4 separate regions of the Homo sapiens genome follow, and all the other regions are linked to region 2. The links are contacts of gene promoters, found by promoter capture Hi-C in human tissues and cell types (Jung and others, 2019). All regions are on one chromosome and are shown on one strand. Each heading gives the region's core, a stretch centred on a gene start or on the middle of the fragment in contact. The rest is flanking DNA. Distances are from core to core; before and after follow the strand shown.

The links. The method cuts DNA at HindIII sites, captures the fragments that hold promoters and counts their contacts. A contact is called where the count stands out against the background at its distance.
Region 1: a contact is called between a fragment that was not itself captured here and the fragment with the promoter of RNF125 in region 2, in 1 of the 25 tissues and cell types used here (small bowel).
Region 3: a contact is called between a fragment that was not itself captured here and the fragment with the promoter of RNF125 in region 2, in 1 of the 25 tissues and cell types used here (dorsolateral prefrontal cortex).
Region 4: a fragment that was not itself captured here is called in contact with the fragment with the promoter of RNF125 in region 2 in 1 of the 25 tissues and cell types used here (dorsolateral prefrontal cortex).

Annotation. Positions count from the first base shown.
Region 1 is chr18:31,648,899-31,655,480 of GRCh38, forward strand. All of the region lies in intron 3 of B4GALT6 (beta-1,4-galactosyltransferase 6), which reads right to left. Among named protein-coding and RNA genes, the nearest start is that of B4GALT6, 32 kb to the right of the region's middle. RefSeq lists enhancers at 3,352-3,451, 3,462-3,531. The HindIII fragment of the contact is 9,490 bases long and covers 1-6,582 here.
Region 2 is chr18:32,015,542-32,022,281 of GRCh38, forward strand. It overlaps RNF125 (ring finger protein 125), which reads left to right and starts at 3,284. Exons shown (of 6, transcript NM_017831.4): 1 at 3,284-3,486. The coding sequence starts at 3,323. RefSeq lists enhancers at 2,606-3,478, 2,885-3,179, 3,479-4,351, 3,996-4,045 and a silencer at 2,885-3,179. The HindIII fragment of the contact is 18,790 bases long and covers 1-6,740 here.
Region 3 is chr18:32,472,816-32,479,207 of GRCh38, forward strand. No RefSeq gene overlaps it. Among named protein-coding and RNA genes, the nearest start is that of GAREM1, 5.1 kb to the left of the region's middle. The HindIII fragment of the contact is 5,505 bases long and covers 1-4,670 here.
Region 4 is chr18:32,448,769-32,455,807 of GRCh38, forward strand. The region is part of intron 1 of GAREM1 (GRB2 associated regulator of MAPK1 subtype 1); the gene reads right to left. Among named protein-coding and RNA genes, the nearest start is that of GAREM1, 19 kb to the right of the region's middle. The HindIII fragment of the contact is 4,181 bases long and covers 1-4,057 here.

The DNA of each region.
Region 1 (6,582 bases), core at 1,601-4,100, 370 kb before region 2:
TGGTATCTAAAACCTAATTCTGGATATGTTGGCTTTTGTCTGTTTTACCCTCAGGGTTTTAAATGTTCACAGCTCAAAGAGCTGATGACAGTGTCAGAGAAAGACCTGAATTTCCCCTAGAAATGTCCCTTAGGGTAAATTCCTCTCCAAAGCTAGAAAAGCATTTTTATGACAAGATGGGACATTCCCTCCCACACTCTGTGCTGCCTCCTAAGCACAGCTCTGAGGCTGAACAGTTATGAGTCATCCAGCCATTGGTCACCTCCTGTCCTTTCTGAAGCCAACACTAGATACTGCCTATTTCAAATGCTTTACTTAAGCTTCTCGACTTATAAAATTTGACAACCTCTGCTTAACAAACGATTTATTACTCAAGTTTTCTTGAAGCAACCAAACCTGAGCATTCTAAACATAAGACAGAGCATTAGTCACACATCCCCACTGCCAAGGGCAATGCCTGGACACAGAATGAATGAATGAATGAATGAGTAGGAAGATTCCTGTCTCATCCCTGCTTCCACCTACCTGCATTTCTACTCCCTGGCTCCATCAGGTGCTAAAATATTTCTTTAAGACATTTATGCAAAACTGTGCATACAACAAAGTCCTAATATCCAGAATCTATAAGGAATTTAAACAATTCAACAAGCAAAAAACAACCCCATTAAAAAATGAGCAAAAAAAAAAAAAAAAAAATGAGCAAAAGATACTAACTTCTTAAAAGGAAACATTCAAGTAGCCAACAAACAAAAAAAAATGCTCCAAATCACAAATCATCAGAGAAATGCATATTAAAACCACGATAAGACAGCATCAAATACCAATAGGAAAAGCCATTATTGAAAAGTGAAAAAACAACAGATGCTGGCGAGGCTTGGGAAGAAAAGGAGATGCTTATACACTGTTGGTGAGAATGTAAGTTAGTTCAGCCACTGTGGAAAGCAGTTTGGAGATTTCTCAAAAAACATAAAACAGAACTACCATTTGATCCAGCAATCCTATTACTGTGTAAATATCCAAAAGAAAATAAATCATTCTACCAAAAAGGCACATGCACTATTATGTTCATTGCAGCAATATTCACAATAGTGAATTCACAGTGACACCCAGCTCTGTGTCCAGACCCTGAACCACAGTCACCTAGAAATGACTGGCTTTCAACTCTGACACTGCACCCTCTCATTAAAGCCTCTTTCTCTTTCACCTTCTCCCACTCCCCTCCCATGAAGTCCCTCTTCAATTCCATGAAGACTTGAAGTCCTCTCTGCTATATCCACACTGGCCTCTGTATAAAGTGGTTTGCTAATTTTGATGTGTGCCTAAGAATTACCAGCTGTGCTTGTTTAAAATGCAGCTGACTGGCCACATTGTCAAAGTTTCTGTGTCAGTTGAAGCTCATGGGTCACGTTTATGGCCACTGGCTTTAACTGAACACATTTCAACGGCTTGAACTACCCACCATTGGGTCCTGCCTTTCAAAGGAAAAAGCTAGAACCCACTCTCCAAACCCCTCTAACAGGTAGGAGTGGTCATATGACCAAATGCACCCGAAGTGGTGGCAAAAGCTTCTAGCTTTACAGGAACCAAGAAGTGGCACTTCTGGTCTCCAGACCTGAGCAATGCTGGTAGGAGGTTTAAGCCCTGACAAGTGGCAGCAGGAGATGCTTCAAAGCGGTCTGAGCCTTGTTCTGGCTGCTCAATTTCTCAACCTAATTCTCTAGCCACCCAGGTTGTCTCTGGGCTCTCTAATATATTTTCATGAATTCTTTTTTCTCTTAAATCAGATAAAGTATATTCTGTGGTTTGCAACCAAGAACCCTGACTTTTGCAGTCTAGGGTTTAGCTCAGAGGCTTCATTTTTAACAGGTATCCCAGCTGCATTTTTTTTGAGACGGAGTCTCGCTCTGTCACCCAGGCTGGAGTGCAGTGGCGCCATCTCGGCTCACTACAAGCTCCGCCTCCCGGGTTCACACCATTCTCCTGCCTCACCCCCGAGTAGCTGGGACTACAGGCTCCTGCCATCATACCCGGCTAATTTTTTGTATTTTTAGTAGAGACGGGGTTTCACCGTGTTAGACAGGATGGTCTCAATCTCCTGAGCTTGTGATCCACCCACCTCGGCCTCCCAAAGTGCTGGGATTACAGGCGTGAGCCACCGCGCCCAGCCCCCAGCTGCATTTTTAACAAGTGTAGATCATCTGAATCACACTTAAGAGAAATGCAGCTCTATGACCTTCACCCGATCACAGCACCTACACACTGACAAACACCTTATCTACCACCCCCTCAACCTGCCACACCTGAGCTACAGGTCCCATCCTTGCAGCGACAATTATCCATGCTCCAATTCTTTACCTAATAAACAGCACTAAAGAAAGCACGTAAGCATATAGATTAATCCCATCATTTGGGTGGCAATACCTAACATATTGCCTCAAGCATAGTAAGGTTTCAGCAAAAACAAGTGTCACTTTTTTTTTGTATTGTGACTCCACCAGGGTGGGGTGGGGGGCTCTCTAGGATAACCTGTTAGTCACCTTCTAATTTATGATTAGTTGACTTCACTTTTCATTCCCTATGACAACTTTTTAAATACTTACTCCTCCCTTTCAAGCTGCTCAATCCTTCCTGGCCATCCCCTCAGGGACACACGGCCTCCTGCTTTACTAGGAAAACAGACACAGCAGGCACGAGCACCCTACCTCTCCACCTCATCTCCAAATAAACCGCGGGCTTCCTCAGGGGAGGAGGCATTCCTGAGGCTTTCCATGCTCACTCTTCAACCTGAGGCATTGTCTCCATTCACTTTCTAACCTGGCTCTATGGAGACCTCCCTTGTGCTTCTCCCTCATCCTTCCCAGTTCTCTTCTCTTCATCTTTTTCTTTTTTTGAGATGGAGTCTCCCTCTGTTTCCCAGGCTGAAGTGCAGTGGCGAGATCTCAGCTCACTGCCAGCTCCACCTCCTGGGTTCACGCCATTCTCCTGCCTCAGCCTCCCCAGTAGCTGGGACTTCAGGCGCCCGCCACCACGCCCAGCTAATTTTTTTTATTTTTGGTAGAGACGGGGTTTCACTGTGTTAGCCAGGATGGTCTCGATCTCCTGACCTCATTATCTGCCCGCCTCGGCCTCTCAAAGTGCTGGGATTACAGGCGTGAGCCACGGCGCCCGGCCTCTTCTCTCCATCCTTTCTTTCCATGATGCCTACAACATGCTCAAGTCCATCTCTTCCTAAAGAGCTCTTCCCTTACCTCCACCTCCTCCAGATCCTTTACCCCAATCTCCTTCCCTTTGCCACCAAACTTCTCTCATTTCACCTACAGTCTACATACACTTCTGACGCACTTCTCAAGAGTCTACTTTGCTTCTCTCCCAATCATTTTACTGAATTCGTGCTTGCTGTGTTCTCCATTCGTTTTCTGCACCAAATTCAGTGGCCCTTTCACAGTTCCTCACTCTCCCTGCTGTCTGGAGGTGTGTGACAAGACACAGCAGTCTTGTCTCTCTGGGATGTGTTCCTGCCTCGCCCCCCAGACACCACCCTCTGGCTTCTCTAGGTTCCTGTCTCCCCTTCTTCTGTTAACCGCCACTCACCTCACAAGTACGGATTTTCTCAGGGACCCACTCTCAGCCTTCTTCCCCTCTCACTTCCTCTGATGTTCAGTCCGGATCTCTTACTAAAGGCAGACCCCAAGTTAACCCTCTTGAACTTCAAACAAAACGGCCCAAACGGAACCCACTAACTTCCCCATCCTCCAAATGCGACGGTTACTCTGTATCACACTTCAGTTCATGGTCACCAAGTCAGAAACCTGGAAATTAACCCTCACCCCTCAACTGGTCGCCACATCTGGCCAATGGCACCCTGTAGGTTCTTTTTTGTGCCTTCTCCTCTCTCCAACGCCACAGCCTTGGCACTTGCCCTTGTTGTTGCCCGTCGGCTTCCTGCAGCAAGCTCCTCATTGGTCTCCTGCTGATCCCAGTATTTCTCCATTCTCACCCATTGTTCAGCTTCTCATGTGAATAATCTTCCTAAAATACAATCCTAGTCCATCATTCACCTGCCTAAAGCCTTCGATGGTTCTCCATTTCCCTAAAGCAGTGGTGTTTTTTGTTTATTTTTGCTTTTTTTTTTTTTGCCCCTAGACCCTTTGAAAATCATGCACTGTCACCTGAGAGAAATGCATACAGGCTCATAAATCAACTGTCTGCATGTAAGCTCACAGGCTCTTCTCCCTCTGAAGCTCACCTCATGGATGCCTAGGAATGATGGAACCCACAAGGCCCTCAGATTCCTCAGTCCTTTACACAAGACCCTTCTAGCCAGCTTCATTTCCCATACACGCCACTTAACACACCCTCTCTGGGCAGAGCCGACCACTCTCCAGTCCGGGAATACACAGAGCCTCCCTTGTGGTGATGCTGTTCTCTCTCAGCTATCTTGTAAGACCCAGTTCTGATGACACCTCTCTCTGACATCGTCCTTTCCCTTCCAAAATAAACTGCTGTCTCCCTTTTGTCACATTCATAACCTTTTTTCTTTTTTTTTTTTTTTTTTTTTTTTTGAGACAAAGTCTCGCTCTGTTGCCTGGGCTGGAGTGCAGTGGTGCGATCTCGGCTCACTGCAACCTCCGCCTCCAAGGTTCAAGCGATACTCCACCTCAGCCTCCCAAGTAGCTGGGACTACAGGCACGCACCACTGCACTTGGCTAATTTTTGTGTGTGTGTTTTTGGTAGAGACAGGTTTCACCATGTTGGCCAGGCTGGTCTTGAACTCCTGACCTCAAGTAACCCACCTGCCTCAGCCTCCCAAACTGCTAGGAAACAGGCATGAGCCACCACGCCCGGCCTCATAATCTTTTCATAGCATGCCTTTCTCCAAGTGTGTTACCTGCTCCAAGCTGCCACACACATGACCACGTTCAGTCTTGTCTCTCCCGTACCTGCTTCTATGAACAACACAGGGACCGCTGCACAGCGGCTGTTCATCAATGACTTGTTGACTCTAAAATGGCTCCCATCTCATTTTTTTTTTTTACAATAAACATATGCATGACAGTTTGTTACATTAGCATTATTTGAGCTTTGCTGACGTTTGTTTGCTTATCTTTTCCTTCTTTGCTGATTTTCATTTGAATTATTTAAATCCATCTCAAGAAGTCCTTGGAGCTTTTGTTATATTCATAAGGTTAGCAACTATAGAAACTATCAGGGTTAAACCATAAAGGGAACTATTCCACAAATAGTAAGAACAGAATATATAAAGGTCACTGCAAACGTATTCTATTTGAATAAGAATTAAAAGATAGGAAAACTAAAGGTAAGTCTATTTTCAGTCTAATGCAGAGTATGCAATTGACATTTTCCATTTCTACCTCACCCATAAAAATTAAAATCAAAACATCCACACTAAGCACTTATTAATTTTTAGCCTTAGACAAGGTGAAACTTCTATTTTACTTTGTTAGCACAAAGAATCTTACATAAATGCAATAAAGCTGAATGTGGATTTGCCCTTTGGAAAATCTATAAATACTAACAAACAAGAAAGAAGTATTCACTCATACTCTTCATATAAAATATACATATTAAAATAGGCTTTATAGTGTAATTGGCCACTATTGAATATGAAACACTGCTGAAATGTATGAAACACATTTTATCTGTATTCTAGTTTGAAAAATTCACTTTATCTTTACAGAAATCCAGTGCCAGTGTTTCCATTGCTATACTAAGTAAAAATCAAAGAAGTTTACAACAGAATAATCAAATACACCAGTGTTAAGCCTTAACTTCACTTTTAGTGACTATAAGTAAATATTACTTGTACTTGAATGGTTTTCATCTAAGTAGATCTAATTCTTACACAAATCCCTTCTAATTATTATTTGGGAAAGAATCATATTCAATTATTTTGTGTAACTATTATAAGATTTTATACTTATGTATTTTATTGCATTGTTCTCTATTATCAATGAAAACTATCTTTTTAAGTAAAAAAATGTAAGGATACATAGCTAATAATAAAACTTCTAAACTCCACACATTTCTCCTAGGTGTCTCATTTCCTTGACCATTGTAAAGTCTGGCTCTATTATTCAAAGAAGGAGGGAGAAGGAAAGGGAGAATCAAATTAATACCTATCAAACTTTAAGCACTGTGTGCTTCATTCTATCCTTACCACACTCTGCAGATGGTATTGGAATCCCAGGTTTTACAGGTAGGTAAACTAAGCCTCCACTTTGCGGAGGTCACAGGACAAGTGAAGTGCTCTGTCGGGCAGCTCGTGCAAGGCTCTCTTGGCAGAAGCCTCGTTATGTTGGCTGTACCCATGGCTCCTTTCTAAAGCCTTATCTGTATGTGGCTGTATTTTCTACCAAATCACCTTGCCACCATGGCCACCACGGCCACCACTAATTGGGCACAAAATTGGGACAGGACCCAAAGTTGGCAGCCCATGAGAGGGACTGCTGTGAAAAGATGGCTGGCCACACTAGTGTGATCCTCTCTTATAAAAGAATGCAAGGATCCCAGGGAAGCAGAGAGAAGGGGCAGTAGTGCTGAGACCCCTCCCCACCCCCAGTG
Region 2 (6,740 bases), core at 2,034-4,533:
CGCCTGTAATCCCAGCACTTTGGGAGGCCAAGGCAGGCGGATCATGAGGTCAGGAGTTCACGACTAGCCTGGCCAACATGGTGAAACTCCGTCTCTACCAAAAATATAATAAAATTAGCCGGGTGTGGTGGCATGCGCCTGCAATCCCAGCTACTCAGGAGGCTGAGGCAGGAGAATCACTTGAACCCAGGAGGCAGAGGTTGCAGTGAGCTGAGATTGCGCCACTGCACACTTCCAGCCTGGGCGACAGAGAGAGACTTCATCTCAGAAAAAAAAGAACTACTGAGATACATATTGGAGGCAGGATTGTGATTATGCTTGATTCAATGTGAATGAGGAAGAGGAAGAAATCAAGGATGACTTCCAGGTGTCTAGACTGAGCTATAAAGTGGATCATAGTGCCATTTGCTAAAAGAGAGATCAACCACTGGAGGAGGCTGCTACTATAATGAGTTCATTATTGGAGACATTGGGCTGAGGGTGTTTATGTCAAATGGTCAGTCATGTAAGCTATTAGGCTATTGGACATTTGAATGGCCTGGGGTAGAGATAAAGATGTGAAAGTTTTTGGAACCGAAATAGTGACAGAACCTGTGTGATTTTTGAGAGAAAGAGAAAGAGAGAAAGAGAGAGAGAGGAGAAGGGAAAAGGTCCTAAGACAGAATCCTAGGATCTCCAGCCCAGAGCCAGTGGAGAAGGAGACTCTGGCAAGGGAGAAGAAACAATAGCCAGAAAGAAAGAGGGAAAGTCAGAGTGTTTCCAGAAGGAGGGGATGGTCAGCACTAACAAACATAGTTGAGGGGTCAAGCAAAAAAAATAGCTGAAAAGAATCTATTGGAATTAGTTACATGAACGTCACCAGTGACACTGATAATAAAGCAGTTTTTGGACAGATGGAGGTGGAGAGGTTGGTTCAGAACCCAGACTGGACTGAATAAGAAGTGAATAATTAAGAAATGATGACAAAATGTAGAGGATCAGATCAAGAGATTTGGCCTTGAAGCGGATATGGGGCAGGAGTTGAGGCATAAGTGGGATGAAAGGGAGGTTTTTGTTTTCCTTTTGAAGATGGGAATAACTACCTTTTCATCTTATTTCCCCCCCCCCACCGCCTGCCCCCCACCACCCATGCTCCAGCTCCATAGGTCTTTCCTTTCTTTGGTTCTGCCTCATTCACTGTTCCCAGTCCACGCTTTTTCCTAAATCTTTGAATGGCTCACTTCTTTTCATTATTCATGGCTCTGCTCAAATGTCACTTCATCCAAAAATTCTTCTCTGAGCTTATTCTTCTCCTCATTGCCATTTACTGTTTTATCTTCTTCATGGCTCTGATTATCTGAAATGATTTTGTTCATTTGTTTATGGATTGATTACATGTATCTTCCTTTTGTTTGTTGTTTGTTTTTGAGACAGAGTCTCGCTCTGTTACCCACGATGGAGTGTAGTGGCATGGTCTCGGCTCACTGCAACCTCCACCTCTTGGGTGCAAGTGGTTCTCCTGCCTCAGCCTCCCAAGTAGCTGGGACTACACGCATGTGCCACCACACCTGGCTAATTTTTGTATTTTTAGTACAAAAATTTTTACTAAAGAAATGTATTTCTAGTAGAGACGGGGTTTCACTATGTTGGCCAGGCTGGTCTTGAACTCCTGACCTTGTGATCCACCTGCCTCGGCCTCCCAAATTGCTGGGATTTCAGGCGTGAGCCACTGCACCCAGCCTGTTTTGGTTTTTTGAGACAGGGTCTCCCTCTGTTGCCCAGGCTGGAGTGCAGTGGCATGATCTCGGCTCACTGCAGCCTCCACCTTTCCGGTTCAAGCGATTCTTGTGCCTCAGCCTCCCAAGTAGCTCACACCCAGCTAAGTTTTGTATTTTTAGTAGAGACAGGGTTTCACCATGTTGGCCAGGCTGGTCTCAAACTCCTGACCTCAGGTGATCTGTCCTTCTTGCCTCCCAAAGTGCTGGGATTACAGGCGTGAGCCACTGCCCCGGCTTGGTTTGTTTTTTGAGACATGGTCTCACTCTGTCGCACAGGACGGAGTGCAGTAGTGTGATCTTGGCTCCCGTGCTCAAGTGATCCTCCCACCTCAGCCTCCCAAAGTGCTGAAATTACAGGCGTGAGCCACGGTACCCGGCCTATATCTCCTAATTAAAAGTAAAGCCTGGGTGAAGTTTATGGCCTGCTAAATACGTACATGTATTATATGCGTTATTATATCCCATGTGTTATATTATATATTATTGTATATGTGTATTATATACTATGTACTATTCTTACAACTGTATGTGAATCTATAATTATCTCAAAGTTTTGTTTTTGTTTTTTAAAGTAAGTTCTGTGAGAACTGGGATTTTGTTTGCTTGTTGACGATTGTGTCTTCATCACTAGAACCGAGTCTGGCGTGCAGTGGGCACTAAATAAGTCTTCGTAAAAAGTGTAAATTAACGCCCGGCTAATTTTTGTATTATTAGCAGCGACGGGGTTTCACCATGTTGGCCAGGCTGGTCTCGAACTCCTGCCCTCAAGCAGGAGTTTCAAGCCCGCCTCGGCCTCCCAAAGTGTTGGAATTACAGGCGTGGGCCACCGCGCCTGGCTGATCATGTTTAAAGGGCGGGGTGGGGAGCGTACAAACAACAGAGGAAATCCTGAGCCGCAGAGGAAACTGGAGATGGCAGGGTTTAGCACTAGAATCTCTGTAGGAGAGGTAAGATTGGAATCCTAATCTCCAGGACTCTTTCCACTACCCAGGCTATCTCTCCATTAATGGACTATTGATTGGATGACAGAGTAGCGATAGCACCGTCTTAGGAGACGCCCAATCATAGGTCATAGGTCATTTTTGCAGCTTATTGTGATGACAACAGTGGAGGATGGTCTTCCACTTCACCTTAAAAGCGGCTGTTCTCTGATTATCATTAAGCATGGCCACGCCCGCACTTAACTTCTGACAGTGGGGAAAGCAGCTGTGTGTGATAGCTTGGAAGGTTTACTGCTGCCTCAAGTCCTCTTCTCTGCAGTTGAGGTTTCAGGTTTCAATCCTCCCAATACCACAAGACAGAGCACGGGGCGGCTGCCGCCTCCGCCTCCGCGCCTTAACCTAGGCGGCTTGCCGAAGATCTCAGCCCCGCGGCCGCGCGCTCGCCCTGCCCTAGACCAGGGTTGGGCGCAGCGGCGGAGGTGGCTTCTGGGCTGCGCGAGCTGGGAGAGCTGGGAGGCGGCGATCGCAGCTGGGCCGGGACTTCCTTCCTCCACCGCACGGCAACAAAACAACCCTGCGGCAGGCACTGAGTGCTTCGCAGCTGTCTGGGCGAGAGGCACAGCGATGGGCTCCGTGCTGAGCACCGACAGCGGCAAATCGGCGCCCGCCTCTGCCACCGCGCGGGCCCTGGAGCGCAGGAGGGACCCGGAGTTGCCCGTCACGTCCTTCGACTGCGCCGTGTGCCTTGAGGTGTTACACCAGCCTGTCCGGACCCGCTGTGGCCACGTGTAAGTTCCAGGGGAGCTCGGTTTGCGCCCACCCCTAAGGAGGGCGATGTGGGGAAGCTGAGGGCATGGTGTGGGGAAGGAGGGGGACGGAAGACAGCCTCTTAGGAAATTGCTGCAGGGAGAAACCTGGACCCGTCGGATGCAGGACCACGGGGAAAACGCGGGTCGGAAGGTGACACAGGATTTCGGGAGGAGAAAAAATAAACAAGCGGGTCCTGTAGCCCCCTTGCGCTTTCAGCTCCCGAAGCCCAGGTGCGGAACTCCAGAGAAGGGGATCCAGGCACGGGTCCCGCCCAGAGCCAGGGCTCGCCAACTGGGGAGGGTGCTCTTGGCTGGAGAACCAGCGCTCGCCCAGGCACGGAAAGGAAACGAGCTCCAGCTACAAGGCAGGGGCTCCCGCAAAGCGCAGTTACCCCGCTGAACACGGTAGAACGGGCTGCGCTTCCCTCTGCCCCAGAAACCCGGGTCCGTTTTGTTTTGCTGGAGCTGTGCACGTGTTCCCAGAATGCCCACAGAGGCTCGTCTTAAGCAAACAAGGATCTGTGCAAAGTGTCTTTCCACCCCCACCCCTGCTACCCTTTCCCAACACAGACACCCAGCCCCTCAAAGGGCAAGTCAAACTGGAGCTTCCGAGTGACTTTCCACAGTTGTTAGAGTTTAACAACCTGCTAGGGTGGGGCTTGGACGTTAGCCGCCAAGCCCCTGAATGTACTCCTTCAAAACCCAGCCACAACGTAACAGGAGGTGGCAGGCTACCTGCTTTACGCACGGTCTCTCCAAACCGGCGGAAATTACAGAGTAAAATAACTTTCTCAAAACCGCATAGTACTTAGCTAAAACTCACAGTTGGTGCAAAGCCGTGGTCGTTTCTAAGAAGAATTTAAAAACAAAGTCCCTATATAAAATTGGCACATCCTTAATGTGTGTTTGAATAACTGGTGGAGTTGGAGCTGTGAATTTGTGCTCTCTGTTTACTGTGTGTGTGTGTGTGTGTGTGTGTGTGTGTTTGAGAGAGAGAGAGAGAGACGTAGTCTGGCTCTGTCGCCCAGGCTGGAGTGCGGTGGTGCTATCTCGGCTCACTGCAACCTCCGCCCACTGCAACCTCCGCCTCCCAGGCTCAAGTGAGTCTCCTGCCTCAGCCTCCCGAGTTGCTGGGATTACAGGCGCCCACCCCCACACCCGGCTAGTTTTTGAATTTTGAGTAGAGATGGGGTTTCACCATGTTGGCCAGGCTGGTCTTGAACTCCTGACCTCAATTGATCCACCCACCTCGGCCTCCCAAAGTGCTGGGATTAAAGGTGTGAGCCACTGCACCCAGCCTTCTCTCTTTGCTTTGATTTTTTTTCGTGGATACGTGTGTGTGTGTTGTGTCTGCACAGATCAGGAGCGGAAGCCTACTTAATGTCCTTTGAAGGGTGACTATAGTATGATGAAGCCATGTGTGATACCACAGTGGCTTGTACCAGCATTTGGCTTAGCAGGAAGAAAGAAATACCGTTATTATGAATGCAAGTGCACAACATGTTTTTGAGGACCACTTTTGAAAGGATTTAGGTAGTCCTTAAAAACATGTTGTGCACTTGCAGTCAAAAGTTTTGACGCCCGGCGTGGTGGCTCACACCTGTAATCCTAGCACTTTGGGAAGCCGAGGTGGATGGATCACCTGAGGTCAGGAGTTCGAGACCAGCCTGGCCGACATGGTGAAACCTCGTCTCTACTAAAAATACAAAAATTAGCCAGGTGTGGTGACCCGTGCCTGTAATCCCAGCTACCTGGGAGGCTGAGGCAGGAGAACTGCTTGAACCTGGGAGGCAGAGGTTGCAGTGAGCTGAGATGGCATCATTGCACTCTAGCCCGGGCAACAGAGCAAAACTCAGTCTCAAAAAAAAGAAAGAAAAAAAAGAAAGTTTTGAAAGGACTTAGGTAATCCTTAATACCTATAGCCTTGTATCTGAAAAGCAGTTTTCACTACTGCCCGTCTGTGAGCCAGGGACAAAAGTGTGCAGCCTGCACAATGTATAAATAAAGAGTGCTTTGGGCATTATTTCGTAGCTGTGTTTTCTTTTCTTTTGAGATGGAGTCTTGCTGTGTTGCCCAGGCTGGAGTGCAGTGGCACGATCTTGGCTCACTGCAAGCTCCGCCTCCCGGGTTCACGCCATTCTCCTGCCTCAGCCTCCCGAGTAGCTGGGACTACAGGTGCCGCCACCACGCCCGGCTAATTTTTTTGTATATTTAGTAGAGACGGGGTTTCACCGTGTTAGCCAGGATGGTCTTGATCTCCTGACCTCGTGATCTGCCCGCCTCGGCCTCCCAAAGTGCTGGGATTACAGGCGTGAGCCATGGAGCCCGGCCGTAGCTGTATTTTCAAGGCCTGTTGTTTCAGCTTTGTTCTTAAAACTCGAGGCTTAAATTTACCCTCCTTTCTATTACTGATGTTGTTGCTCAGCTGTCCAGATGTAGCTTATTAACATAATATCCACAGGCCAGTCTGGAAGCCAAGATGGGCTGTGTGAGTCATAAAATATATTGATTATTTTAGGGCAATAACAGCCTAAAGATATCTCCATTTAAATTGAGTCATTATTAGCATTAAAACTTTAAAGTTGTGCAAAACATAAACAGTGGGCGTTTTGAAGATTCTTTTTGGAACAGACCGCTTTGCTATTCAATGATCTGACTGGAGATTGTTTTCTCGGTTTGGACTTTGAATATTATAATTTACCATTTACAATATTTTTCCTTCTACTAAAGGATAATATAAATTTGCAAAATGTTAAATTTTTTGTTTAATCTTTTTCTTTGTTAAAGTGAATAGGAAACTAGCAACTGGAAAAATAGTCATAAAATAGCATTACAAGGGCTGAACAAATTGCCTTTCCTCTCTTTACTGTTCTTTGTTTTGACAAATCTATGTCCATTGTTCTGGCTGTGGGCAGAATTTCCATATTCCTCCTTTTGGCAAACTTACTTGGTCCCCTTCCACTTTATAAATGTTAACCAGAGTCCTTTCTGCAGTAGAGATTGTGAGCGTTAATACCATTTGTACATTCTAAATGAATTACTCTTTTCCATTGAAATTAAGTTGGAAAACGAATAAATGCAAATGAACCTTCTGTATTTTATTATCCCATATTGAAGCTACATTTTCAGACATGTTGAACTAGGTGGTTTATGCTGATTTTTGTTTGTAAACCTATTTCAAGTCAAACAAGTTTAATAATAACAACAGTACCTTGAATGAATATGTAAGAGCA
Region 3 (6,392 bases), core at 668-3,167, 460 kb after region 2:
AACCTGTAAGTAGATCCTAAACCCTTATATGGTAGGCTGATTTTTAAAAAAATGACTTTGTTACTTTTATATTCTCTTTAAAAGCTTCAGAGAATAAGAGAAGTAGTTTCCTCTCACAAAAGGACTGGTGACTTTTGACCTAAAGACAAGATAAAAAGTAAAAAGATTAATGTAATCAACTTTTTAAAAATCAATAAAGGACTTACATTAGATCTGTTATTGCTGACCTTGCAGAAAAGGTTTTATTTCAATCTTGAGTATTAAAAGGAAGAAATTTTAGTGAGCTGCAAATTCTTAGTAAGTTTCATGTCCTGGAAGAACTCTTACAGAAGGATTTTATTTGTGAGATGGAGAGTTTTGGTTAAACTGCCGAAAACAAAAACAAAAAGCAGTTGAGAGGGGTAATCTTTCAGTCTGGCTGAACTGTACTTCCAAACATGTTTCTTAAGGTTGTTGGAACAATGCAAACTGTGTATACAAAAGCATTACAACTTGGTGCAGGGGCAAAGCTTACAGGACTTTGAAGTTTATGAAAAGGAACATCCAAGAAAAGTTTTCTTTAAGGCAACAATTGATGCACTGGTCCCTTGTTCCTACTAAGTACCTTTACAAACTGAGATTTGTGAATTAAAATATCAGCTCCAGAGCCAGATGGCTTGGATTTGATTAGTGGCTCTGCTTCTATTTAATGTCATGGGAAACTTGCTGTTTCCTCCTCTGAAAAATGAAGATAATAATAGTACTCATCTCATAGGGTTGATATGAGAATTTAATCATTTAATATACATTTAGCATTTAGAATAGTGCCAGATGCATAGGAAGTGCTATGGAAGTATTAACATTTGCTATTATTATTAAAAACCATTGGCTTTAAAGGGCAAAATTTATAGAAAAGATGAAGAGATAAATGCTGACGATTTGAATAGATTTGAAAAATAAGAAATGATTAGATTTGGGAAAATAGTTATATCAGGCAAGGAGTAGAAGAACACTTTTTAAATGACAAACCTAGCTGGGGGACTTCATTGCAAATCTAGAGTCTGTGGGGTTAATTTATTCCACAGTGAACCCGCCTCCTACCCAGCAGACCCAGGCAGTGATCATGAAGACTCTGTATATGCTATTGATAAGCCCAAAGGTGAATCAGGTAAATGACACTACAGGACTCAAGTGACAGACACTTGCCAGCTTCCTAACTGTGAGTCTACTGTTTATACATGCATAACTTGTTAATTCTCTGCATTATCAGCTTTGCAAGATAAAAATATTACATATTGGTTTTCCTCATATCAGAGTGTCCTGGCTCACATAATATTCTAGCAGTCAAGTGCAATATCAAAGTTCACAGCCCTAGTGATTTTTTAGGTCTCCCCATTCTTTCCCCTTTCACTTAATTGCCATGTGATCCCCAGAGCTAACTTGAAAGACAGTCCCTAGCTAATGCTTTTTGCAGTATCTATATCGTCATTGTCTATGAAATTAAGTGTAGAGCCCTTGGCATGGCGTAGAAGGTTCTTCCCTTATGTGGCTGGGTCTGCCTCCCTAACCTCACTCCTGTTTGGCTACCTTCTAATACCCTATGATCTGGGGTAGCACCTGCTTGTAGTTGCCCAAATGTATCATGGTAATGCATACCCTTGTAGAGCTTGTTCTCTCAGCTTAGAATGCCTTTCTCCTTTTCTCTTACTGTGAAAACTTCATTCCAGCTCCAGCTTCCTGCATTCCATGAGCTGCTGTATCTCCTCCTCCAAGGAGATTCCTTTTTCTGTGTTACCATTGCACCTGCAATACCCTCTTTTGACTGTACTAGTTGCACTCTGATTAATTATCTTCCTATATTAGCTTTGCCTACTAGACAACAATTGACTGTGGACACAAAGAGTTTTTTTTTTTTTTTACCTCTGTTTTACCAGCTCCTATTACCATGCCTGGCACACAGCAAGTGCTCAATTAATGTTTGTTGAATTGAGTAATCAATGCACTGAGTCAACTTCTCACTCTATATTATTTTGTAGGTCACTGCAACTCCTTTTTTTCCCCAAGCCAAATGGTATACAGCTTTAAAATTTTATTTACTTTATTTTTTCATTTCATTTTTTATTTTATTTATTTATTTTTTTGAGACAGGGTCTCTCTCTGTGGCCTAGGCTGGATGCAGTGGCACTATCATGGCTCACTGCAGCCGCCAACTCCTGGGCTCAAGTGATCTTCTTGCCTCAACCTCCCAAGTAGCTAGGACTACACTCATATGCCACCATGCCTGGCTAATCTTTTTTATTTTTTGTAGAAACCAGGTCTTGCTATGTTGCCCAGGCAGGTCTTGAATTCCTGGGCTCAAGCAGTCTACCCACCTAGACCTCTCAAAGTGCTGGGAGCTACCACGCTTGACCTTGTATCCAGCTTTATTAAGATACTTTTCAGCCGGGCCCAGTGGCTCACGCCTGTAATCCCAACACTTAGGGAGGCCGAGGCGGACGGATCACGAGGTCAGGAGATCGAGACTATCTTGGCTGACATGGTGAAACCCCATCTCTACTAAAATACAAAAAATTAGCTAGACATGGTTGCGCGTGCCTGTAATCCCAGCTACTTGGGAGGCTCAGGCAGGGGAATCGCTTGAACCCAGGAGGCGGAGGTTGCAGTGACCTGAAATTGCGCCACTTAACTCCAGCCTGACGACAGAGCAAGACTCCGTCTCAAAAAAAAAAAAGATACTTTTCATAAACAACCATGGTATCAGGCAGGACATGTGCAGACAGTCATTAAGAGTATAGAACAGCTTTCAAATTCTCTCCTTCAATGGACTACTCAAATCAGAAAGCCACTCTAAAACCCAAACGAACTCTTCATTTGATACCCTGACCCAGCCACGTAAGGGAAGAACCTTCTATGCCATGCCAAGGGCTTTACACTTAATTTCATAGAAAATGAGGATATAGATACTGCAAAAGGCATTAGCCAGGGACTGTCTTTCAAGTTAGCTCTGGGGATCACATGGCAATTAAGTGAAAGGGAAAAGAATGTGGAGACCTAAAAAATCACTAGGGCTGTGAACTTTGATATCACACTTGACCGCTAGAATATTATGTGAGCCAGGACACTCTGATATGAGGAAAACCAACATGGAAGGGAAAGTTTACATGAAGGGTTGACATTTCACATTTAGCATGTTGTTTAATTTTTCATGAGCCAACCCTGACTTTCAAGAAATGGTGGAATTTATCTGACGAGCCACAGTCTAGAACAGGAACTGCTGCTCTTTTGAGGGATGCCATCTCAATGGTACCACTGGAAAGTCCAGATTGCCTGGCACACTGGTAACTGATTTTGGGAGGGTCTGGTTCCAACAGGTGTATGGGTTTAAGGGAGTTAAATCTATGCTGAAGGCAGAGAGCGAGAAGAGGACATAAAAATGCATTTTAGTTTTTCCACACCACCGGGCATTTGTGCCAAGGTGGCTATGTGTGTCAACCTCAAGGAATCCTTCCTCCTGGATGCCAAGAGGAAGTCTCTTAAAACTAGAAAGGAAAGGTATTTTCCCACATCAATTCAGCTTCAGGAACATTCTATTAGTAATATATGCCCCTTCCTCAGAAAACCACAATGAAGTGTTTGGTGTGCTAACAACATAGCCTAAAAGAACAGGAAAACAAAATTCTGCACTTTTATATAATTTGGCAAAAAATCATATTTCAGACTGCCGTCACCAGAGTACACAGATACTGAAAATGCACACACTGCACTCGGCATCTTCAGCGCCTCAGCTTCCTGTGCCTGGTCTGTTTAGGCATCTTCATTTTCTGCAGGGTTATTCCCATCCTTGCCAGCATCAAGAATGCTTTTTTTCCTTTGAGTACCTTCTCTCCCTCCTTTGCAAGGGCCTTTTTAGGTTTGGGCTCTGGCTTAGGAGAAGCAGATTTAGCAAACAACCTTGCAAGTCTTTTGTGGTTCATCCTTCACCTTGACTTTATCTTCTTAGCATCCCCTTCATCTTTTCTCTTGGGCAGGTTGGTGACTGCAGTAGGACATAAGTGCTGGAATCAGAGATGCAACAGCCTGCGAGCTTTGCTCAGTCCCGGGGTCATTCTTGCCTCTTTCACACTGCTCTAATCTCTTAATTATAAACAACATTCATCAAGTCTAGAAATGTTCAAGATTTTTGAGATTTTAATTCCAAATAGCAATGTTTCCTATCAGATTGGCCCCCAATTCTTTTTATTCATCTGAAAATTTGAATTTCATTGAATTCAAGATCTGCACTCTTATTACCCAAGTAGAGATTATGCTTCTAGACTAGCAGTTCCAACATGTATTAAAACCATTAGCATATGTGTTATTGTTTGTTAATTTTTTATCTTCCTTACTAGGACTTCACCCCCAGAAGAGCTTTCTTTATTATCTCTGCATCCCTAGCATTTGGCATATAGTAGACAGTGTGTGTCTGTGTGTGTGTGTGTGTGTGTGTGTGTGTGTGTGTAGTGAATAGATATATAGTGTGATATATATGCATGCATATATATTGTGATATACATATGTTGAATGGATAAAAATACCATAAAACAGCATATCTCATATGGACACTTTCTGAAAGTCTCTTAAAAAATACTCAAACTGGCTGGGCGCAGTGGCTCATGCCCGTAATCCCAGCACTTTGGGAGGCTGAGGCAGGCGGGTCACTTTTGGTCAGTAGTTACAGCCTGGCCAACATGGTGAAACCCCATCCCTACTAAAAATACAAAAATTAGCCAGGCATGGTGGTGCGTGCCAGTAATCCCAGCTACTGGGGAGGCTGAGGTAGGAGAATCACTTGAACCTGGGAGACAGAGGTTGCAGTAAGCCAAGAGCACGCCACTGCATTCCAGCCTGGGTGACAGAGCAAGACTCTGTCTCAAAAAAAAAAAAAAAAAAAAAAAAAGCTCAAATTTACTGTCATTGCTCCCTTTTGATATAGGACATGCCTTTCTTAAGTAGATCACTGGATAAGACAGATATTACAGTGCCAATATAGGAATATTAAGGAAAATATCACCAGTTGCAAATTAAATTTCATGCAGGCTTGTTTGCTTTTAAAACAATACATAACAAATCTCCATTTAGAAATACATATCACATTGTGACCCAGTACACACATACATATAAATTGAAACAAAAGTTATATAAAACAGTATTTATTTGTATACTTATCATATCAACTGCATCCTGATCTTTTACTTTTTATTTATTTCTTTATTTTTAGTGCTAATCATGACCCACTAACTTTATAGATTTCACAATCTATAATGGGTCACAACCTGCAATTTAAAATCCACCATTCAAAATAATAGTTTCTTTTGTGCATTAAGTATTTACATTTCACTTGATCTTAGCCAAAAGGCCGAGAAGCGATGAGTATTTACATTTCATCAAAAGAAGGAGCATTATGGTTAAAATTGTTGGAGCTTCTAAAATTTATGAATACTCAGAAGCAAAACTGTAGATGATAAGAATTTAATTATTTAATTTACCAAAATCATCATATATGTTTCTCTATGTGTATGTGTATGCATGTGTATGTGTAACTTCATAGGTTCTAAGTTTGGGTTTATGAAGAAGCTAGCTCTTTGTGGGTGGTGCTTCTACTTTTACTCTCAGCCAAGCACAAGACCTCCTCTTGAGAAGCTGCTGGTAGTGAGAAATGATCCTGGGTGGGGCGTGGCTTTTCTGCTGTTTGAATAAATTCTTTCTGAAAGTAAAGCAGAATTGCTAACTCATCACTAATTATTCCTTGTGCATATGTGAATGAACTGTTTTTAATACTACACTTGAAGTATTGGTTAAAGAAACAGATAGCTTAATTGGTTATGTCATTTATGAACTAAATAAGCTAAGATTCTTTCTGCCTACAAGAGTCTATGGTTTATGACATAATTTAGATTTTTCTCAATGTATTTATCTACTTAATGTGGCAAAGCACAGGTAGGAAACCTTTCATTTTGTTATTTTTAGCGTCAAACTAATCATTCATATTATTAAATATTTATTAGTGACCCAAATCTTCCCAGGATGTATACGAGTTTGTTGTTGAGCTGATGATTTGAATCTTCAAAGGAGTTTCAGTGTCAGAGGCACTTACAGATGGCTTCCAGTTTTAAGCCTTCCATAGAAAGATAATGAGATCTTAGCTCCCTGCTGACAAGTCCTCTAAAGAAAGGCTGTCATACATGTTTTCCTAGGCTGCAGATTCTTCTCCCCTCTCTTGTAGTAAGCAGGGAGAAGGGAAAGACAAGAAAGATGGTGGTTATGCTGGGTACCTCCCTGGGCCCCTGACTACACTTATTCAAACTGGACACATTTTTCCTTCCTGACCTCTCATTTTTCAGGTTCCTGGTCTCTGAAGGCTTGAGAGTATCACA
Region 4 (7,039 bases), core at 717-3,216, 430 kb after region 2:
TCACCTTCCACCCCAAGTCTTTCTTGTTGGGGAGACTGGGGTAGGAAGACAATAAACATTCAAAATAGAAAACCTTCTTCAGTGAGTAATCCCCAAGGTCCAGTTGAATTCTGCAGGGCCCTCATGGTTCTTTTTATTTCAATAGCGGGATCAGACCTCTCCTTGGTATTTTTGCTTACAGTGGTTCAACTTTCAATAAAGATGATGGACAGAAGACTCTCTCATTTTATGATAAGCAATACGAATGGGAAAACACTACTTGTTGGTCTGAGAATTAGGAAAGGCAGGCCAGAGTTTAAAGCACAAGATCTAGAACTGCCTCCGTTGCTGGCTTCTCCGCTTTTCAGCCATGTGACCTTGAGCAAATTATTCCTTATGTCAAAGAGCTCTTGAGAAGTAAATGAGATAATGTATGTAAAGTGTTGTACAGCAGCTGGCACCATAATTAGTCCTCAATGAACACTAACTATAATTATTATACAGAAATAAACACCAACGGATTTGTTTGGGGGAATATGGAAGAGTTACTTTTAACAGTTTTATGTGCCTTTGTTAAGAAGGTAAAAGCTATAGCTTCCTTTTTTTAAAAAGTTTTTAATCATTCATAGTAAAGTGTTATTAAAAAGCAGAAAGTTAGGCTGGGTGCGGGGGCTCACGCCTGCAATCCCAGCACTTTAGGAGGCCGAGGCAAGTGGATCGCTTGAGTCCAGAAGTTAGACAACATGGCGAAACCCCATCTCTACAAAACATATATATTTAAAAAAAATTAGTTGGGTGTGGTGGTGCACACCTGTAGTCCCAGCTACATAAGAGGCTGAGGTGGGTGGCTGAGGTTGCAGTGAGCTGTGATTGTGCCACTGCACTCCAGTCTGGGCAACAGAGTGAGACTGTCTCAAAAAAACAAAGGGTTGGGGGGCAGGCACGGTAGAAGTTTAATAAATATTCTTTCATCTTCTGTGAAGACCAGAATTATTATTTCTTATCATTACGACTATTCTAATTCTTCAAAATTTCCTTTGCAGGGAGAATGGTGACATGCAGTAAACCAGGTTTGTTTTTTCATTTTCCTGTTAATACATAATCTTGAAGGGAGGAGAGTCTATTTTGGGTAATCACCAATGTCTACATAAAAAGCTTAAAAGGTGAATAATTTAGGTGGAGACCCCTATGGACATTGGGCAGGCAAAGGCATAGGAACCTTTAAAAAGAATGGACAGAAAAAGCAAGCCTCCTTATGTAAGAACACTAGCCAATGGGAAAAAGTGCCATTAACTACCTCCCTTTGCCAGTAATTGCAGCTATAAAAAGAATATTATTACAGTAAGGTTAAGTTAATATCTTGCTGTCTGTGGCACAACCAGTCAGAAAATTTTTAAAGATATTCTAATATTCTGAGTACTCAGCAATCAGTATCAATCAACTTATAACTGATCTTCTGTTCCGACTGTAACGGCTATCCTTTGCAATACTTTCTCTTCCCTGCTGGATTAGAAAATTGGCTGAAATCCTACTGCAAAATCTAAGGGTACCTTTTAAATCCCTAAATGCAAGTCAGCAATTCTGGAGTTTAAAAAAGCTAAATCCTGTTTAAGTGATTAATTCAACCCTTATGCCAACTGTTACATACAATTATTTAAAAGTTCTAATAAGCTGCTAAAAAAAAAACTGTTTAGGGGTTGCAACATGTGTAACCACAAGCATTAACCTTGATCTTTTACCATCATCAGCACTGGCTCAATTCTCTCTTGATCAATGTGATTCACTCGGTAGCTTGATTTATGACCATTACATTGAAATTTCCCAGTATTATTTCTCTAGCCCTGAATTCTCTCAAGATGCAAGCCCAGATTTCTGACTCCTGAACTGAATTTCCTCTTCAATACCTCAACATAGCCACAAATTATCTTGCTGCTTTCTCATACCTCCAGCCTTTAGCACTTACTGGAGTCATAATCCCAGCATATGGAAAGATGGTACCTCACCCTGTTGAAAGTTGGGTGTCGCCATGGGTCTTGCCAGTAACAATGACATGTAAGAGGGATACAAGGTGCATCACTTCTGAACAGAAGCTTTAAGGGGCCAGGGCATGATTTACCATATTCTGTCTTTCCTCAACAGCTGTGGTAATCCCAGCACTTTGGAAGGCTGAGGCAGAACTGCTTGAGCCCAGGAGATTGAGACCAGCCTTGGCAACATAAGGAAACCTCATTTCTATTAAAAAAAAAATTAAATTAGCCAGGTGTGGTGGCACACACCTATAGTCCCAGCTACTTAGAGGGGCTGAGGTGGCAGAACCACTTGAGCCTGGGAGGCTGAGGCTGCAGTGAGTCATGATGGTGCCACTGCACTCCAGAGCTGGATGACAGAGTGAGACCTTGTCTCAAACAAAAACAAGAATGAAAACAATCATGGAAGCACAAACTGAGGCTTTTAGGCCTGGGATCCTCAATGAGGATGATGATGGAGAGCAGAGCCCCCATCCCCCCACCCCCAAGCTAGCTCATTTCATCTCAACTGTGAAGACCAGAATTATTCTTTCTTATTCCCACAACTATTCTAATTCTTCAAAATTTCATGCAGCACAAGTGAACAATAAACCCTTGCTGTTTTAAACCAACTAACACTTTGGAGTTGCTACTGCCACCAAATCTCGCCTACTCTGCCTCATACACTCACCTGCAACCTGCTTCTCTATCTCTGATAAGGGCATTAGTACCCAAGTCAGTAACCTCAGGACTACTTAATGCTTCCCTCTTCCTCATATTCCATTATCCAGTTATTAATCCTGGAAATCTTACCTTATAATATTTCCCACTCACCCTGCTCCACTACATTCCCACAAATCTAGTTTTGCCTAGAGGCCCTCTTTCTCTTTGATTATAAACCCTATAGCTTCCAAATATTGCCTAATTCCAAACTTTTTCTGCTCTAAATGATCTTCCAAAATGACCAGAATAACCCTTGTTAAACAAAAAAAAATCTGGGCCTTTCCCATATTTACAGCCCTTCAGCACTTCCCACTGTTTGTATAACAAACATTGGAGGAGCATGTTTGCAAACAGGCACTGTGCTAGGCACCACAGGAATGAGGATGAGCCATTTGCCTGGATAATGATCTTCAACATGATGCAGTGACAGAGCCAGCTGCAGAATGTTGCTTGATACTAGCATTTAGTAAAATACTGAAATCGGTGACAAAAGGTATTTTTAAAATAAAAATTAGAGTTAAATCAAGTTAGAGTTAATTCAAGTTCTATGAAGACTTGACTTTCACTCATATTCTGACATGCTTTCTTGAGAAGGAGAAGAGATGGAGGTCATCATTAGCTAGCCAAGACGTGCACAATGGCCCAAGATTCTGCATCAAGTCCTTCCTGAGACTCTACTGATATTAGGAGCTTACATATTATTATAACATACATGACTGTAGTTTGTTACCCATTTTTATAATAGAGTTCATCAAATTTAGGACCCCAGTGAATTCTGTTGCAATCCATTCTGTTGTAACACCATCTGTCATTTGTGTCCCGGAAAGGGAAGGGATGTTAAGAGCCACCAAGTTAGCCAGATGAGAAAAGTCAAATGTCAGTATATTGCGGCTCTTCAAAATCTGTTTCCCAACTTGCCCTCCCCTAACATGCCTCTGTTCAGGCGTTCCAAACCTTTGTCAGGCCACCATTCCCTCTTTAAAACCTCACAAAATTCTACTCATTGAACAACTAGTTCAGTGATCAATTAACATTTTCTATTAAACCTGTCCCAAGAGTTGTAGGCAACATTAACTGGCCTCTGGGCTGAAGCATTTCCTTGCTTATCACATGACAGTATTTAATTGTCTAAGCACCTACCTACTCAGTGGGCCTCTGAACTCCTTGAGGATGAGTATCACATGTATTCATCTTTGTGCACCTAGCCCTTGTTACTGTGCTTGTACAGCAGCAGGCACATGCTCCACAGCTGTTAAATGAATAGTGTGGAAACCACATACCATACTCCCACTTACCCATCAGCCTACTGATGAATGTTAGGGGAAACTGTTACTTTGAGGATCCAGAGAAGGGGGTTTTATACTTATAACTTCTACGTTTTTTTTTTTTTAAGAAACTTGGCATGTTATTAACTATAGGGTAGCAAAACTTATATAGGTATGTATGTGTGTGTGTTTACACGTGGGTGTGTGCTTGAGTATGTGTCTTTAACAGGTTTACTGTGACTGCTTGTATTAGTCCATTTTCACGCTGCTGATAAAGACATACCCGAGACTGGGTAATTTATAATGAAAAAGAGGTTTAATAGACTCACAGCTCCACGTGGCTGGGGAGGCCTCACAATCATGGTGGAAAGTGAAAGGCACGTCTTACGCGGCCGCAGGAAGAATGACAGAATGAGAACCAAGCAAAAGGGGAAACCTCTTAAAAAACCATCAGATCTGGTGAGACTTATTCACTACCATGAGAACAGTACAGGGGAAACTGCACCCAGGATTCAATTATCTCCCACTGGGCCCCTCCCATAACATGTGGGAATTAGGAGAGCTACAATTCAAGATGAGATTTGGGCGGGGACACAGCCAAACCATACCACTGCTATAATAAACTACCACAAACTGAATGGCATCAAACAATAGAAAATTTATTCTGTCACAGCTCTAGAGGCTGAAAGTCGAAAACCGAGCTGCAGGCACAGCCACACTTCCTTTGAGGGTCCTAGGAGAGATTCTGTTCCCTGCCTCGCCTAGCTTTTGGTGGCTCAGGTAAGCCTTGGTTTGTGGCTGCATTACCCCAATCTCTGCAACCATCGTTACCCTGCCTCCTTTTCTGTCTCAAATCTCTGTTTGTCTTTCTCTCATAAGTACGTTGTCATTGGATTTAAAGCCCACTCAGGTAATCCAGAATGAACTCCTCTTAAGACTGTTAATTACATTTGCAGAGATCTTTTCTCAAAAGAAAGTAACATTCACAGGTTCCAGGGATTTCGATGTGGACAAATCTGCTGGCAGGACCCCCATTCGATCAACTACACTATGTGTGCACATGCCTGTGTGCATGTGTGTTGTATATTGTACAAAGAAGAATCCTTAAACAAGGCTCTATTGAACACCTACATGTTACCAAGGTAACACAGTTTGGAAACTGTGTTAGTGCTGGGGACACAATGATGAACATGAAAGACACAATCTCTGCCTTCATAGAGGTCAGAATCTATAGGGGGGTGGGGTGAGTATGAAAATTAAGTTATTCTTTAAAGTTGGAAAACGTAATATGAGAAAAAATTACACTATGGTTGTATATAATAGTGACCTCATCTTACCTGTTGTTAAATGAGTAAGCTAACACTTTCTCCATTAGGGATGGATGGTTCAGGGAATACTACTTGATTTTCAGTTTAGATTATCTCCCACCCTGTATTGGGACATTCACAAAAAGTCCTTGTTTCTTATGTTTGCTTTACACATTGAATTACTGGACCCAAAGATACTCCATGGCACTACCACAATTCATACAATTTAGAATGCCATCACTTGCAAGACAATCATTGTTTGACAACCACCAAGACACAATGCTGCTGATAAAACTATGTCATGCCATTAACTATAAGACACATGCTGATTTCAGAGATATGAAAATGTACACCTTAGAATCAATGAAATATGTTAATTTCCATTCTGAAATATATTCTTACAATACATCCAGACAAATTAACACCTTCTGATTAAGTAGTATAGCCAAATCTCAATGATTTCCCAGCAAAATTTTAATGCTGAATTGGCTTCACAAGCCTCAGAGTATTTTTCAACCTCTTTCCATCAGGCTAATATATGCAAATATAATTCACTAAGTCTTAAAAGTAGGACATATTCTCATATTCTGGGTCTCTTCCAGGCTTGAGACAGTTGGAAAAGTCAGAGACTGAGAAAGAACTCTAAATTCCTTGAGCAGGAAGAGGCTGCTGGAATCATCACTTCTTTCCTTGCCCAGAACCTGCTAAAAAGTCAGATTGTAAAGAACAGAGTGTGTGCACCTGTGTGTGTATTAGTCGGGGAAGCTTGTAAATACTTTAGGGATAGGCTGAAGTATCCCAACAACTCTGTAGATGAGTCATTCAGACAAAATTTTTGATCCATCTGTTGGAACATCACACCAGATCATGTGAACTGTGTGAAATGAACAGTGCAAAGACAAGACAGGATCCCTGCTCTCTGCTCTTGGACAGCTTAAAAAGACAAATATAAAAAGGGAAGGAATAAAACTTTTAAACACGCACAACTCCAACCTAATAAAGTCTGCATGGAATCCAGGATCGAGGTTTTGTTATAATCTTACACAAAGGTTATGTAGTAGACAAAATCTCAGGGACTAATCTCACACTTGTTTCTCCTGTATTTATTCAGTCTGGGTTTTGACATTAAGATGTAAGATTTACATTGCCCTACATTGTTTTTTTTCTAAAATGTAGATTTCATTCTGGTCTTTGCATGTGAGATTAAGAGGAATCAGGAATATAAGTCCATGAAAAACTGGGGGAAAGGTAAACAAAATGTAAGGGAAATTTAAGAATTTTTAAGTGGACAGATGTAGGTCATTATGGGATTTCAAAGAAAGAGACACACATACATTGAGAATAGCATGTGAAAGTTGCCCCTCCTACAAAAAATAATGGGGGAAATACACTTTCAACTAAGTAATCAAGCTGAGTGCAACTTGCAAATCCTTCTTAAATTCTGAAACACACACGCACATACACACACACTTACTTGAACAGCAGCTTTGTAAAGTATCATTTTAAAAGCAAATTCTTCCCTGGAGAAAACTTAACTGCCAAAGCATCTGGACTATCCTTCTAGAAGGCATTTAACAAGCTACTATCACTTCAGAGACTCACCAGGGTACATGGGCTTCAAAATGTATTTAAATTTTCTTTAGAAAAACACATATCAGACCTCTCACAGCCATTGGAGAAGAAGGATAAGTCAAGATCAGGAACAGTTCTAGCTACAACTTCACTTCTTTAGGAACAAAATAATTGTTTTCCGATTTCA